Regions from separate parts of the Homo sapiens genome. Here region 1 is linked to region 2. The links are contacts of gene promoters, found by promoter capture Hi-C in blood cells and fetal thymus (Javierre and others, 2016). All regions are on one chromosome and are shown on one strand. Each heading gives the region's core, a stretch centred on a gene start or on the middle of the fragment in contact. The rest is flanking DNA. Distances are from core to core; before and after follow the strand shown. Region 1 has its middle 27 kb from the start of RD3. Region 2 holds the start of TRAF5 (TNF receptor associated factor 5).

Region 1 (6,407 bases), core at 734-3,233, 190 kb after region 2:
TGCACCACCACGCCTGGCTAATTTCGTATTTTTTGTATAGATGGGGTTTCTCCATGTTGGTCAGGCTGGTCTTGAACTCCCGACCTCAGGTGATCCGCCCTCCTCAGCCTCCCAAAATGCTGGGATTACAGGCATGAGCCACCGTGACCGGCCGGTCACTTAACATTTAACCTAACACCCACCTGCCAGCAGGTCAAAGGTTATTGCCTATGACTGGCCAGGTTTCACTTCGGCTGCCGTGGTGCTCCTGATGTGACTGCACTGGGCAGACGGACCTGAAGTACTGTCCCTGTATTAAGTGGAGTGGCCCCGGGAATGAAGCCATAACAGCAGCCAGAGACAGCAGCCCAGATTGGCTGTCTTGACAGCCCAGAGCCAGTGTGGTCAAATCTGCCCCCATGATGCCTGTGTCCTTGCTATTCCCGCCCCAGTCATCCCCCTCTGAACCCCAAGGAGTAGCTGTGAGGGTGCAGGTGGGTGAAAGAGACAGGCAGTGGACATTAGTGCAAGAACTAGGGTCATGGGTTCTGAGTCCAGCTGGTCACTGCATACCTACGTGATGACACATAATTTCTCTGAGTCTCAGTTTCCCCAGCTGTAAACAGCACTAATAGGAACTGTGTGGACTACCTCAAAGGGTTGGTAAAGGGTTCAAATTAGATAACGAATGTTCATCACTAACCCATTCATTCGTTAAATGTTTATTACAAACTTGCCTGAAAGATGATGATCCGTCTTCTCAGTGGCAGCAGAAAAATCATGAAAGACCCTGCCCATGACGCCACCTGTGGTGCACACAGGCTTAGCACCAGCCTTTCTTAAACTGTGTGAGCAGGAGGGCTGCTGCAGAGGAGGAGGGATGCAAGGTGAAGGGGGAGGAGAGGCAGGAACTGCATGGTGGAGGAAGCAGGAAGAAGGGCGAGGCCTCACCCATATGGCCTCAGCAGGCCCTGTGATCTCCCTGTTGAGCCCAGGTTCTCCCAGAAGCTCCCTGGGAATTACTGAGCTGGGTGTGGCTTCCTAGCCCCACACCTGCCCAGCCAGCTCAGGGCCCCTCCGTGCTGTCTTCTCAGGATCCTGCTTCAACCTGCTGCCACTTCCCCATGCCTAGCTCACTGTCACTTTCTCCCTTACCTGCCCTCTCAGCCTCAAACTGATAATTTGGAAAAAGAGGCGCCTGGAAAAAACCACTTCCAGGGTACAGCAGGAACCAGCCTCACTCTTCTTTCTCTCTTTTAAAAATTATTACGATTTTTACTGAGATGGGTTCCAAGTATCACTCTCCACCACCTCATCACCTTCTGGGACCTGGATGGACTCCAGATCACTATGTTGCCTAGGCTGGTCTCAAACTCCTGAGCTCAAGTAATCCTCCGGCCTCGGCCTCCCAAAGTGTTGGGATTACAGGCGTGAGCCACTGTTGCCTGGTCTGGCCTCGCTTTTAATTTTGGCTTCCTGGAGGCTTTTGCTGAGGTAGAGATGCAGGCCACCCTTGCCTGACAATGCCTTCCAGGCAATTGAGTGGCTGAGCCAGTGGGAGAAGGTGGGCTTCTCTCACTCCCAGGTGTGGTGGTAGTGAACCAGCCCAGGTGGTCAACATGAACTGGGAACATGGAAGACAAAGGTAAAAGAGCTGGTAAGGGAAGCAAAGCAGGTTTGGGAATAAAGCTTAAAATCTGGTACAGAGTGGGTTACCATGCCGTCCCTCTGGGGCTGACACATCAGGCGGAAGCCCCCAAATACAGGGTTAGTCTTGTCATGTTACAGTTCTCCCACTGGGCTGAGAACTTCCCAAAGACACAAGCCATGTTTCTTCCTCATCTTATAACTTGTGTAAAAGGCTGGATCCCTTGGAGTACAATCTTCTCACTGGGCACCTGCTGGCCATAGGCCAGCCCGCAGAGAGCAGGGCAAGGGTACGCATGTGCCCCCGAGTGGCTCTCTTAGCCAGGCTGGGCCAAGGTTCACCCATTTCCAAGCTCAGCCTCTGGGCATACCATGTTTGGAGCCCAAGGGCAGTTTTCCATGCAACGAGGCACGTATCACTCTCTACCACCTTGTCACCTTCTGGGACCTGCGTGGACTCCAAATCCCTCTCTCTAGATGTAAAATTGAACCTGGTGGAGGCTCTGCAGCTGATGTGAAACCACCACTTCCTCTCTCCCCAGATGGTTCCAGCCAGAGGCCAGCCAGTCAGCCCTGTTAGGGTGAGCACCTACTGTGTGCAGAGCCAAGTGCTCAGTGTATGATACTCACCTTTTGTTTTGCCTGCCTATTATCCCTTCCCCTTATTCTGGCAAAAGCTTTCCAATTCTTAACCTTCCACTTGTAGTCAGTAAGATTCCCACAGGGCCCATTGCCAGAAGGAAGCCCCTGGGCCAGGCCTGGCCACAAGATATTTTACCCCAGCCTCTGACACTGGTCACAGAGATCATCAGCACCAGGGCTGTAGCTGGAACTAGTGGGAGGAGAAACTCTCTCTACTGGTGGATTACATGAGCCTGGGACTGCTGATGGGCATCTTGCATCACCAGGGGAGAGCCACGCCAAGGAACAGAGAAAGACCAATTCCTGAGGACATCGCTTAGGCTCCTGGAGCCACCGTGGCTGGAATGGCCAAGCTATGACTGCCTACATTTCCTAAGTTACTTTGAATTGGGTTTTCTGTCACTTGAAACTAATAATGGTGACCAAAATGAGGAGAGGAGGGTGCTCAGAGAAATAAAGAGAGGAAGTGAAATGATTTCTACTTTCAGAAAGGTCCCAGGCTGAGGGGAAATATGGTTTTCATCCTCGGGTGTCTGAACACATGATCTTCCATTTTTTTAACTGTGTGTGTGTGTGAGAGAGAGAGAGATTGTGATATATATATATATATATACACATACATATGTGTATATATACATATACACATTGAGAAAAATTCTTATACTTTTTATTTCTTTGTCAAAAAATACATATCCAGAATGGAAAACTTATTTAAAAAAGAAAAGAAAGAAAGAAAAAAGGAAGGAAGGTAACCTGTATGCCACCCTCCACTGTTACTCTTTTTCAGTGGGTTCATGTGTGCATACACCTTTAACAAACTACAGAGGGTCATCTGGTAGAGATTACTTCAATTTGTTTTTCTCCCCACTTACCAACACATGGGGATCTTCTTTGCAAAAACATAGAGGAAACTTTTAGGAGGCAAGTCTCATGGCCCTACCGTGTTCACATGCATCTCGCCACCCAGCCTGTCATCTTGTTTCCTAAAAGAGGCACAGGAGGCCATCTGTGGATGAAAAGTGCCAATTATTCTCCATAGTGTCGCTGTTAGAGAAAGTCTTAAAAAACAGAGCATTCATTCACTCACTTGTTCAATAAGTAAATATTTAAGTGCCTCTCAACATGCAGGGCACTGAACTATGCGCTTAGGGTATGATGAACAAAACCAGACATTGTCTCTGCTCCTTGGAGCTTACAGCATAGTGAGGCAAAGTCATTCATCAAACACTTGCCAAACACGTGTAAACCACTGGCTGGCACAGATGCTGAAAGGGCATAGCATAGGCAGGTTTGGTCCACTCAGGAGGGCTTTCCTGAGGAAGTGAGGTGTGGGCTGGAATCTAAAGGATGAAAGGTGCTAACCAGGCCAAGAGAGCGATGTGAGCATTTCAGGGAAAGGCACTGTAGTTGGAGAGAGTATGGCTGGAGTGGAGAGAGGGGGAGCCAGTGTCCCCCACCGTGAGAGTGGGTGGCAGAGAGAGAAAGGAGCCAGGTGATGCAGGGCCTTTGAAGTCACATTGCTAAGTTTTGTCATGGTCCTAAGAACAAGGGGAATTGGCTGGGTGTGGTGGCTCACACCTGTAATCCCAGCACTTTGGGAGGCTGAGGTGGGTGGATCACTTGAGGTCAGGAGTTAGAGACCAGCCTGGCCAACATGGTGAAACCCCATCTCTACTAAAAATACAAAAAATGGGCCGGTTGTGGTGGCATGCGCCTGTAATCTCAGCTACTCGGGAGGCTGAGGCAGGAGAATCGCTTGAACCTGGGAGGCGGAGGTTGTAGTAAGCTGAGATTGTGTCACTGTACCACTGCATTCCAGCCTGGGTGACAGAGCGAGACTCTGTCTCAAAAAAATAAATAAATAAATAAAAGCGGTTGGGGGAAAAAAGGGGAGCCACTGAAGTTTCCCCAAGCAGATGCGTGTATGACATGACTAGTTTTGTGTTCTGTAAAGATTCTGAGGCTGCGTCGTGAGAAATGGGCTGGACAGATCCTAAACAGACTGGAGTGTAGTCGGCAGACAGCTATTGCAGTAGTCAAGGGATCAGAGGGCAGGGTAGCTTGCCATAGGGTGATGGTACAGGAAATGGAGAAAAGAGGAGGGCCTGGAGATGCATTTAGAAGATAAATCAGAACTTGGTAATCGATTGGCTATGCAGAGTGAGAGAGAGTGTGTCGGGAGACTCCTGCTTTATTCCTGTCTTGCTCAACTGGGTAGGTGGCACCACCAGTCATGGAACTAGAAAACACTGTAAGAGAACCAGCCAGGCTAAGGAGAAGGTTAAGTGTTCCACCTTAGGCATGTCGAATTGTGGGAATCTTTGAGACCTCCAAACAGAGATGTCACTTAGGCAGTTGGATGTCTCAGTGAAGAGCTCAGAGATCACTTGTATGAGTGTGCACTGACCCGCGAATCAACCAGCTGGTGTGGATTCTGATCCCAGCTCACTGTGTTTCATTGGTGAAATCACTAACCCACTCTGGGACTCAGCGTCCTCAAGTGTCCAATGAGGGGTTGGACCACAATTCTGTCCAGCTCTAACATTCTCTGAATCTGTGAGCACATGAGGATGGAATATTGCCCAAACTTCTCTAAATTCCTCCCAAAACCAGGGAAAGAGGTCCTCCAATTTTAGGAGTGTTTCTGGCTCTGTTAGACTGGTCTTCGGGATGTTCTTGTTCTGATCCTGGCTGTCTCTCTCCTAGTCAGGTCGTGGACTAGCCTGAGACCCCAGAGCCCTATTCTTGCATGGGAAACCCTAGGCCCCTCATCCTTGTTTTAAGAAAAGGAGAGAGAACTGCATGTGCCGCTGTAGCTCATGGGGAGGCAGGTTGAGGGTCAAAGGCATAGACTGTGAAACAAAGGTGTTTCTTGCCACGGACTTTCCAGGACACTTCCCCCAAGGTTTTCCCTTTGCAAAATGACTCCTCCCCTTCTCTGCTGCTAGCCTGCTCTCTCCTGAACTTTCTGCTCTCTGCACTCTTTCCAAAAATGTGTTATCAGGTGTCCATGCAGTGTTTGCTTATTTCACAAATGACCCAGTTCTTGATGATGTCCCAGGTCCCACTGACCTTTCTTGGCTAGAGTAAGTAGCCCATGAAATAATATCTTCCTGGAACTGTTTGACACCTAGTCCCTCTCCTGGGTCCTGGCCAAGAGCTAAGAACCATTCATCCAGGGCTCATTATTAATGACCTATTACATGCTAGACACTGGAGATGCAAAATGAACAAAACCCAATCCCAGCCCTTGAGAAACCTTTGTGCCAATGATTTTGAAGTGTGAACTGGACCATCATTACCACCCTCTTCACCATATTAAAACCTCTTTTCTGCACACTTGGCTTTTGAGTTGTCTCAAAGATCATTGGCCGGGCATGGTGGCTCAAGCCTGTAATCCCAACACTTTGGGAGGCCGAGGCGGGCGGATCACGAGGTCAGGAGATCGAAACCATCCTGGCTAATGTGGTGAAACCCCGTCTCTACTAAAAATACAAAAAAATTAGCTGGGCGTGGTGGCGGGCGCCTGTAGTCCCAGCTACTCCGGAGGCTGAGGCAGGAGAATGGTGTGAACCCGGGAGGCGGAGCTCGCAGTGAGCCGAGATCGCACCACTGCACTCCAGCCTGGGCGACAGAGCAAGACTCCATCTCAAAAAACAAAACAAAACAAAAAAATCATTAATGCCAGTGGCTATCATTTACCGAGGGCTTATGATGTATCGGTCTTAGTAGAAAGCACTTCACATCCTTCATCTCATTTAATCTTCCAAACACCCTGTGAAGTAGGTTCTGTTTCTCTCACTTCACTCTTGAGAGCCTGAAAGAGATTAAGTCACTTGCCTGAGTTCAGACAGCTGGGATTCAAAACCAGGTTTAATCTGACTTGAAAATACCTGGCTCTTAACCACACTGCTGTTGCCACCTTTGATGGGACGGATGGCTGCTTGTTTCCTGAGGAGTTGGTGTTAGCTACAAACTTCCAAGTTTATTAGAAGAAGGACCCCAGGAGTACAGGAATCCTGTCTTGTTTAGCCCTTATCGCAAAACACCTAGGATGGTGCCTAGTAAATATTTGTTGAATGAATTTCAATAACTGAAACACTTTGCAAATCCCCCTCCCCACTCACCACCACCAATCA
Region 2 (6,403 bases), core at 1,071-3,570:
TTGAAGGTATTTAATGTTTTTTTATATGTGCATTTATGTACATACAGGATTCAAATTCCGCTTTATGATCAACAGGGAATTGGGACTATGTTACTGACTTCTGACTAATACCCGTCTAAAATTCCTTTACCCTTTCCACTTAGACGCAGCCCTCGAGTTATGCGGCCCCCATTTCCCACCACAATAAAGATCCACCTCTCTATCCCAGGTTTTATTCCATCATATTTAAGGCTTGGATGTAATTTTTGGAACAATTGACTGCTTTATTTAGTTGGTGGGGAGAGGAGTAGGAGAGAGAAGCAAATTACAGTCAATGACAGGACCAGGGATTCTGAGCATACCTGCATGTATGCATACTAGACACTGATGTTCCAGCCAGTGAAAGGAGATATAACTTCTAAAAAACAGTATCAACTTTATTATGCTTGGAAGTAATGAGAAGAGAGGCAAGAAGCAGGCAATGGTAAGAGAAAGCGGGTGGGACGTAGTGGCTTGCACATTTAATCCCAGCACTTTGGGAGGTCGAGGTGGGAGGATCGCTTAAACCCAGGAGTTTGAGACCAGCCTGGGCAACATAGTAAGTCTCCATCTCTTCAAAAAAAAAAAAAAAAAAAAAGGAGCTGGGGGAGGTGGGCGTAGTGGTGTGTGCCTGTAGTCCCAGCTACTCTGGGGGCTGAAGCGGCAGAATTACTTGAGCCCAGGAGATCCAGCCTGCAGTGAGCTGTGATCATGCCCCTGCACTCCAGCCTGGGTGACAGAGTGAGAACCTCTCTCAAAAAATACACACCCACAAAAAGAGAGGGAAAGTATAGTGTATGGCAGAACAGGAAGGAGAACTTGGGTTCACTAAGCACCTACTCTGTGTTAGGCGTACAGGAGTGCCATCTCATTTAATTCTCATGAGAAGATTATGAGACAGATCTACAGTCCCAAAGCAACACCCACCAGTGCCTCTCCCCCACGGAGCGGTTCATCTAACTCACCAACCAAAAAAGGTTTGGATCTGGATTTCTGGCTCTTTGGAGAAATAAGAGATCAGGTAACAATAGGCTGGCACTGGGTGGTGGCTGCTCCACTAGATCCTCCACCTGCTCTTTAGTGCACCAGCGCCTCCCTCCTTTCTCCATGACCACAACCTCTGCCTCCCTCCTGTATGTTTCCTGCCGAGCTCCTGTGCACATCTGAGTTTTTGACTCCCAAGGTGTGTATTATTCTCCCCTTTTATTGACGAGGACGGTAACTGAAACTCAGAGCAGTTAAGTACTTTTCCCACGGTGGCCTAACTGAAAGTAAAGGATCTAGATAGAATTGGAATTTTGGTCCATTTCATTTATATAGAATGTATTGCCCTTGGAGAGAATATATTGTAAGAAAGAGCCCGTATCTAAGAGTGCGCAGGCCAAGCGCGGTGGCTCACGCCTGTTGGGAGGGCAAGGCAGGCGGATCACAAGGTCAAGAGATGAGACCAGCCTGACCAACATGGTGAAACCCCGTCTCTACTAAAAGTACAAAAATTAGCCCGGCGTGGTGGCACATGCTTGTAATCCCAGCTACTCGGGAGGCTGAGGCAGGAGAATTGCTTGAACCTGGGAGGCCAGGGTTGCAGTGAGCCGAGATCGCGTCACCGCACTCCAGCCTGGCGTGAGAGCGAGACTCCGTCTCAAAAAATAAAATAAAATAAAAAATACGTATAGAGAGAGAGAGAGGGAGAGAGACAGGCAGACAGCAGACCTGGATTCAAGTTCCAGCTGCAGAGCTTGCTGAGCGTGTCTAACCTTGGGTACGTCACTCCACGTTGCTGCTCTGGCCCTCAGACAGCTCATCTGTAAAATGGGGATGACCAGGCCTACTTCACCAGCTTGTTTTGAGGACCACAGGAGATGTTTGGGAAGCCAACCGGGGAGCTCTACAACTCTCAGAGATTGCTGGTGTTAGGCCAACAGCAAGAGGAGGGCTGGCAAATTTGTGCTACCCTGAAGGAAAGTCCAGGAAGGACTGATTTGAGCCAGATCTCAAGCAAGGCCTTGAGCAAATGGGTCAACACAGGAGAGGACGGGCTGAGCCTTGTTGTGCCTGACGGAAGAGCAAGACGGCCACAATTCAGACGCACGTGAGGGAAATCAGATGACTGGACTTGTAGATACTAACGGTTCTGAAGCGGGTAGGTTAGCTTTCCAACCGCCTGGATGACGGTCTCAGCCTCCTCCCGACCCCTTCCTGCGCGTCCGCTCTTCCCCTGCGCCCGCCCGCGCCCCTCCGCCCGCGCCCCGGCCCCGCCCCAGGCCTCGCCTCCGCTTCGCCGCCGCCGCCGGCCGCAGCCAGGAGCAGCAGCCGCGCCTGCAGACCGGCCTCGCGGAGCCCGCGCGCCGAGCCCCACGTGAGTCCGGCGGGTCGCCGCCCTGGGCACCCTCGCGACGGAAGGGCCGGGGTGGGGACACCGACGAGCGCTTTTCATCTCGTCCCAGTTACTTTGAAACCGAAAGCGCCTGCTGGCGTCCGGCCGGTCCCCGACCGGCGGGGAGGGCGCGAGGCGGCGGCTGGGCCGGGGGAGGCGGAGGGGCCCGGGCTTGCGGGAGACCGGCGGGGCAGGTGACCGCCGACGGCCCGGGGACAGCGGGAGCGGTGCGGAGCGGGTTTCTTAGCCGGGGAGAGGTGTGGCGAGGGCGGAGACTGGGGGTCCAAAGCTGGGGAGCTGGTCCAGAGGGCGGCTGTGGACCGGAGGGGCCAGGTTCCGTCGGGGTGCACTGGCGGGGAGGACTTTCAGGCACGTCCCGCACATCCGCACTGCAAACCAGGCCCTGGCCCCCTTCCGCACCCGAAGGCACCCTCTCCACCTTTGCAGGGCTTTCCAATCAAAGCAACTCCAGAATGAAACTTCAGGATTGCAAGGAATGGAAGCCTCTACCAGCTGTTCGTTTGCGCGTCTTCCTTTAGAAAGCAGCTACCCCCCTCCCCCAGAAGGCGAGCTCTAAGGAACCTTGACGCAAACCAAAGCTCCGAGAGGTGGAAGGAGTTGCCCAGAGGCACCCAGAGAATTCGCAGATTCTGAGTTCTCCGTACCAGATGGTCTCCACTTTGTTCCTGTTCTGCAGGGTCTTGGTGGTTCTGAGAATTTTCGGGGCCACGCTCTTGCTGCGGGTCCCACTGGGCCACTCTGGCTGGCCGACTTTCTCTGCTCATTCGGCCTCCTTCTGCTAAGTTTCCATATTTGGGTATTTCAGATTTACTTTCATGAGAACTCAGTTATCTCGCTGTGGCAGGCAGAGCTGCCTCAGGCGAGCATTGAGGTTGGTGAAACCAGGCGAGGCTCCCTGCCAGGGCTGCCCCTGCAGCCCCCACCCTCCATAGCCTTGGGCTCTGACCCACCTCCTGTGAGGATAGGCATCTGGTAACCAGTTTAATTCTGTAAATATTTATTGGGCAGGTGCTGTGTGAGAACTGGGCTGGGGCCAGTGGAATATGGTTATTTCCTCCAGAGATACTTGCATTTTAAAAGGGCTCTGGAAGACCTGAGATGCAAAGAAATTAGTTGAACCATTTCTGGAAATAGAACAGTTTTGGGTGTGTGCGAGATAATTTTAGGCAGCAAAAGGCTGGGCTAGGAACTCTCAAATCCCAGTGCAGCTGCTCTGCCTTATGTACTCACAAAGCTGAAAACAGGGGTGTTAATGTAATTGATGGTTTGGGTGGAAACACTTCCATCCCTAACTCTAATTTGAACTAGAAAGACAGAAATTGCTGCAGGAACGATGGATGTAAGATGGAAGTGGAAAACGCCTAGCTTCTGTAAAGGTTTTTGATTTTGTTACAGTTACTGTTTTTGTTGTAACTCTATGGAATGGATCACCTCTCAGATCCCTGGCTCCTGGACAGAGGCAGGAGAAAGTGTCTGAGCCAGCATCTGGAACATGGGAAGTGATGGAGAAGGCGACTTCTCCCACGGCCTCTGGGCTGAGAGGCCTGTTGTGACGGGCAGGGTAGGATGGTGGTATTTCCCTCTGTCAGCAGCAAGCCCGCTGGACTTGGGTAGTAGGGCGATGGAAAGAGTGTGGAAAAGAGCTGCCGTCCACTGAACGTCCTGACGATAGGGACTGGGATGTTTCAGTGGGGATGATTTGCACAGTCGGGGAGCTAGATGCCTCAGAGTCAGTCTTGTTAGGCTTGCAGTGGGAAAGGCACCTCAGTACTTAGACAAACCTCCTCTGATTAGCTCAGCTTTACTGGGGAGGACCTTGAAGGAAAAATAATTATTTGTTTGTAAAGCTCGTTCCTTTGCAAAGCATTTTCTCTTTGTTCTTGTCGTTTTGTTCTCATTTCGTCCTCCATGACGCCCTCATGAGTTAGAGCAGGCTTATTCTCTACATCTCTCAGATTGTGAGGGTGAAGCACTGAGGCGGTAAATAGCTCCCTGAGCTCCACTGCTGGACCAGGATCAGAGCATTGAGGTGTCTTGTTCCCCTGCTCCAGGCCCCTCACCCTGGCTTCTCAGAGAGCCATATCTGCCCACCTCTTCCTCCGTCTGAGGGGTCAGCAAGGGGACCCAGATTCTGATAATGCCTCTGTGGTCTGTCCCCAGCAACATGGAGCAAGTTCTGCTGGAGACTCTGGCCTAACCACCACAAGAACAGACATCCACTCTGTTAGCTCTGCCTAGCCAGGCAAACTCCGGGCAAGACCCTTGTCTGTTTTCATGTGTGTCTTGGAACCTGGCATAGAGTAGGCCTAAACAGATGTTTGCTGAATCGAATTGAATTCATTCAGGGTACGTCTCCCTTGGGGTCTGAGCTGCCAGGAACAAGTGCTGGGTAGGCTTGGCAGAGAGAGGTTGAGCTCCCAGCAGGACTTGCTTAAATCCAGAAATTAGAATAACACTGTACAGCTTACGAGAAGCCCATCTCATCTGATTAACTTCTCACTACCTCCTCAGGAGAAGGGAGAGGCACATGCTATTCCTTCCACTTTACCTGGTTGCAAGCTGAGGCTCAGAAGTGATTTGAAAGACCTCACAGCATGTAGGGATGGGGCAGGACCTAATCCCAAGTCTTCTTTCTCCAATTCCTGTGTTTTTCCCATAGTATCTTAATTAAAGGAAGCCAGGATTCTGGGCAGGAGGAGGATGAGAGAACCAGCGAGACAGTCATCAAAAGCTGCCTGACACCTTTGTCACTGATCAGGGGTCAGTGTCTGACTCAGTCTCTGAAGAGCTTTTTTCTGCCCAGGTTGTGGCTTTTTCTGGGATTCTGGATAGGAGTTCTAGCTCCAGCAGAGGTGTAGCAAGTGAGTATCTGTGTGTGTTGGGGCAGAGGAGAACACGCTGCAGGGCAGAGGGAGTCCTCAGAGCTGGCAGGCCTCTGCTGCTGCTGCCGCTGCCACCACCCAGGAGTGGGCCAGCATGAATTTGTTGCCTTGCCCAGAGGAAAGCTTTATTTGAAGGATCACTCAGCAGCCTTGACCCATATGGCCTCCAGCAAGTCCTATCTTGTGAGAAAGTGGCTTGGAGGACCAGGCAGGAGATAAAAGTGAAAGTACTCATTAGTCCTGACAGAGGAACTCAGTCTGTTTACAGTGACAGTGGTGAGCACATTTTGCATATTTGTACCTGGAGGCAGGTGGTGGTGCATGCTTGGATCGTGCTGTAGCAAAAGCAGTATACATGCAAATGGTCTGTACACTGTGCAGTATCCGTGTGATGTGCAGGTCTTAGAGACCCAGTATTAAGTGACAGAGCCCAGTGAGTGCCCTCCCAGGATATCTCACTTACTTTCAGCAGAGCCCCATGTCTCATTTCTTGACACCACAGGCTCCATCAACTTCCCTCCTTACCAATTCAGAACATTCCTGAATTTTTTTCCATGGCTTTTTTTTTTTTTCTCTCAAGGAGAAAGTGCTCTCCTCCAGAACAAGGCGAGAGTACCTTTTCCACGTACACTCCCAAGTCAGCTCTCTCCTCCTCCCTCTGAGGCAGGTTCCCTCCCTGCCTCCCTCCCACAGACTTCTTCCCTCCCCCACAAGCTGAGTTTTCTGTTAGTAAGAAGACTCCATGTTTCCCCAGTCCCTCTTCTCTTTCTTTCACTGACAAGCTTCTGTAAAGAGTGGACAGCTCTTGCACTCGCTCCTCACTCGGCACCGTGCACCTGCTGCGCTGCTCTGATTGTCCTGTGTAGGTTTCCAGGACCTGGTACTCCTCAGTCACCAGCCCATACCAGCCCACGCTGCAGCTATTACTTATCTCCTTGGAGGTTGCTACACCGTCCCCACCAGCATTCCCTTCCTTGACCTCCAGCTTCTTATCCTCCTCTGTCCTGCAAGTGCAGGTATGGGGCCAAGGCTGGGTCCTCAGGTTGGATTTCAATTCTCTGTGCTTCTCTCCTTGAGCCCTTGGCCATTCCCAAGACTTAAACCA

What was found. Contacts are between HindIII fragments. The CHiCAGO score rates a contact against its expected background, and 5 or more counts as called.
Region 1: a fragment that was not itself captured here is called in contact with the fragment with the promoter of TRAF5 in region 2 in 1 of 17 cell types (total B cells); the score reaches 5.2 in total B cells.

Annotation. Positions count from the first base shown.
Region 1 is chr1:211,516,325-211,522,731 of GRCh38, forward strand. No RefSeq gene overlaps it. Among named protein-coding and RNA genes, the nearest start is that of RD3, 27 kb to the left of the region's middle. RefSeq lists an enhancer at 2,574-2,623. The HindIII fragment of the contact is 635 bases long and covers 1,667-2,301 here.
Region 2 is chr1:211,324,513-211,330,915 of GRCh38, forward strand. It overlaps TRAF5 (TNF receptor associated factor 5), which reads left to right and starts at 2,321. Exons shown (of 11, transcript NM_001033910.3): 1 at 2,321-2,377. RefSeq lists enhancers at 1,025-1,526, 1,796-2,185, 5,749-5,808 and a silencer at 2,246-2,615. The HindIII fragment of the contact is 10,339 bases long and covers 1-5,419 here.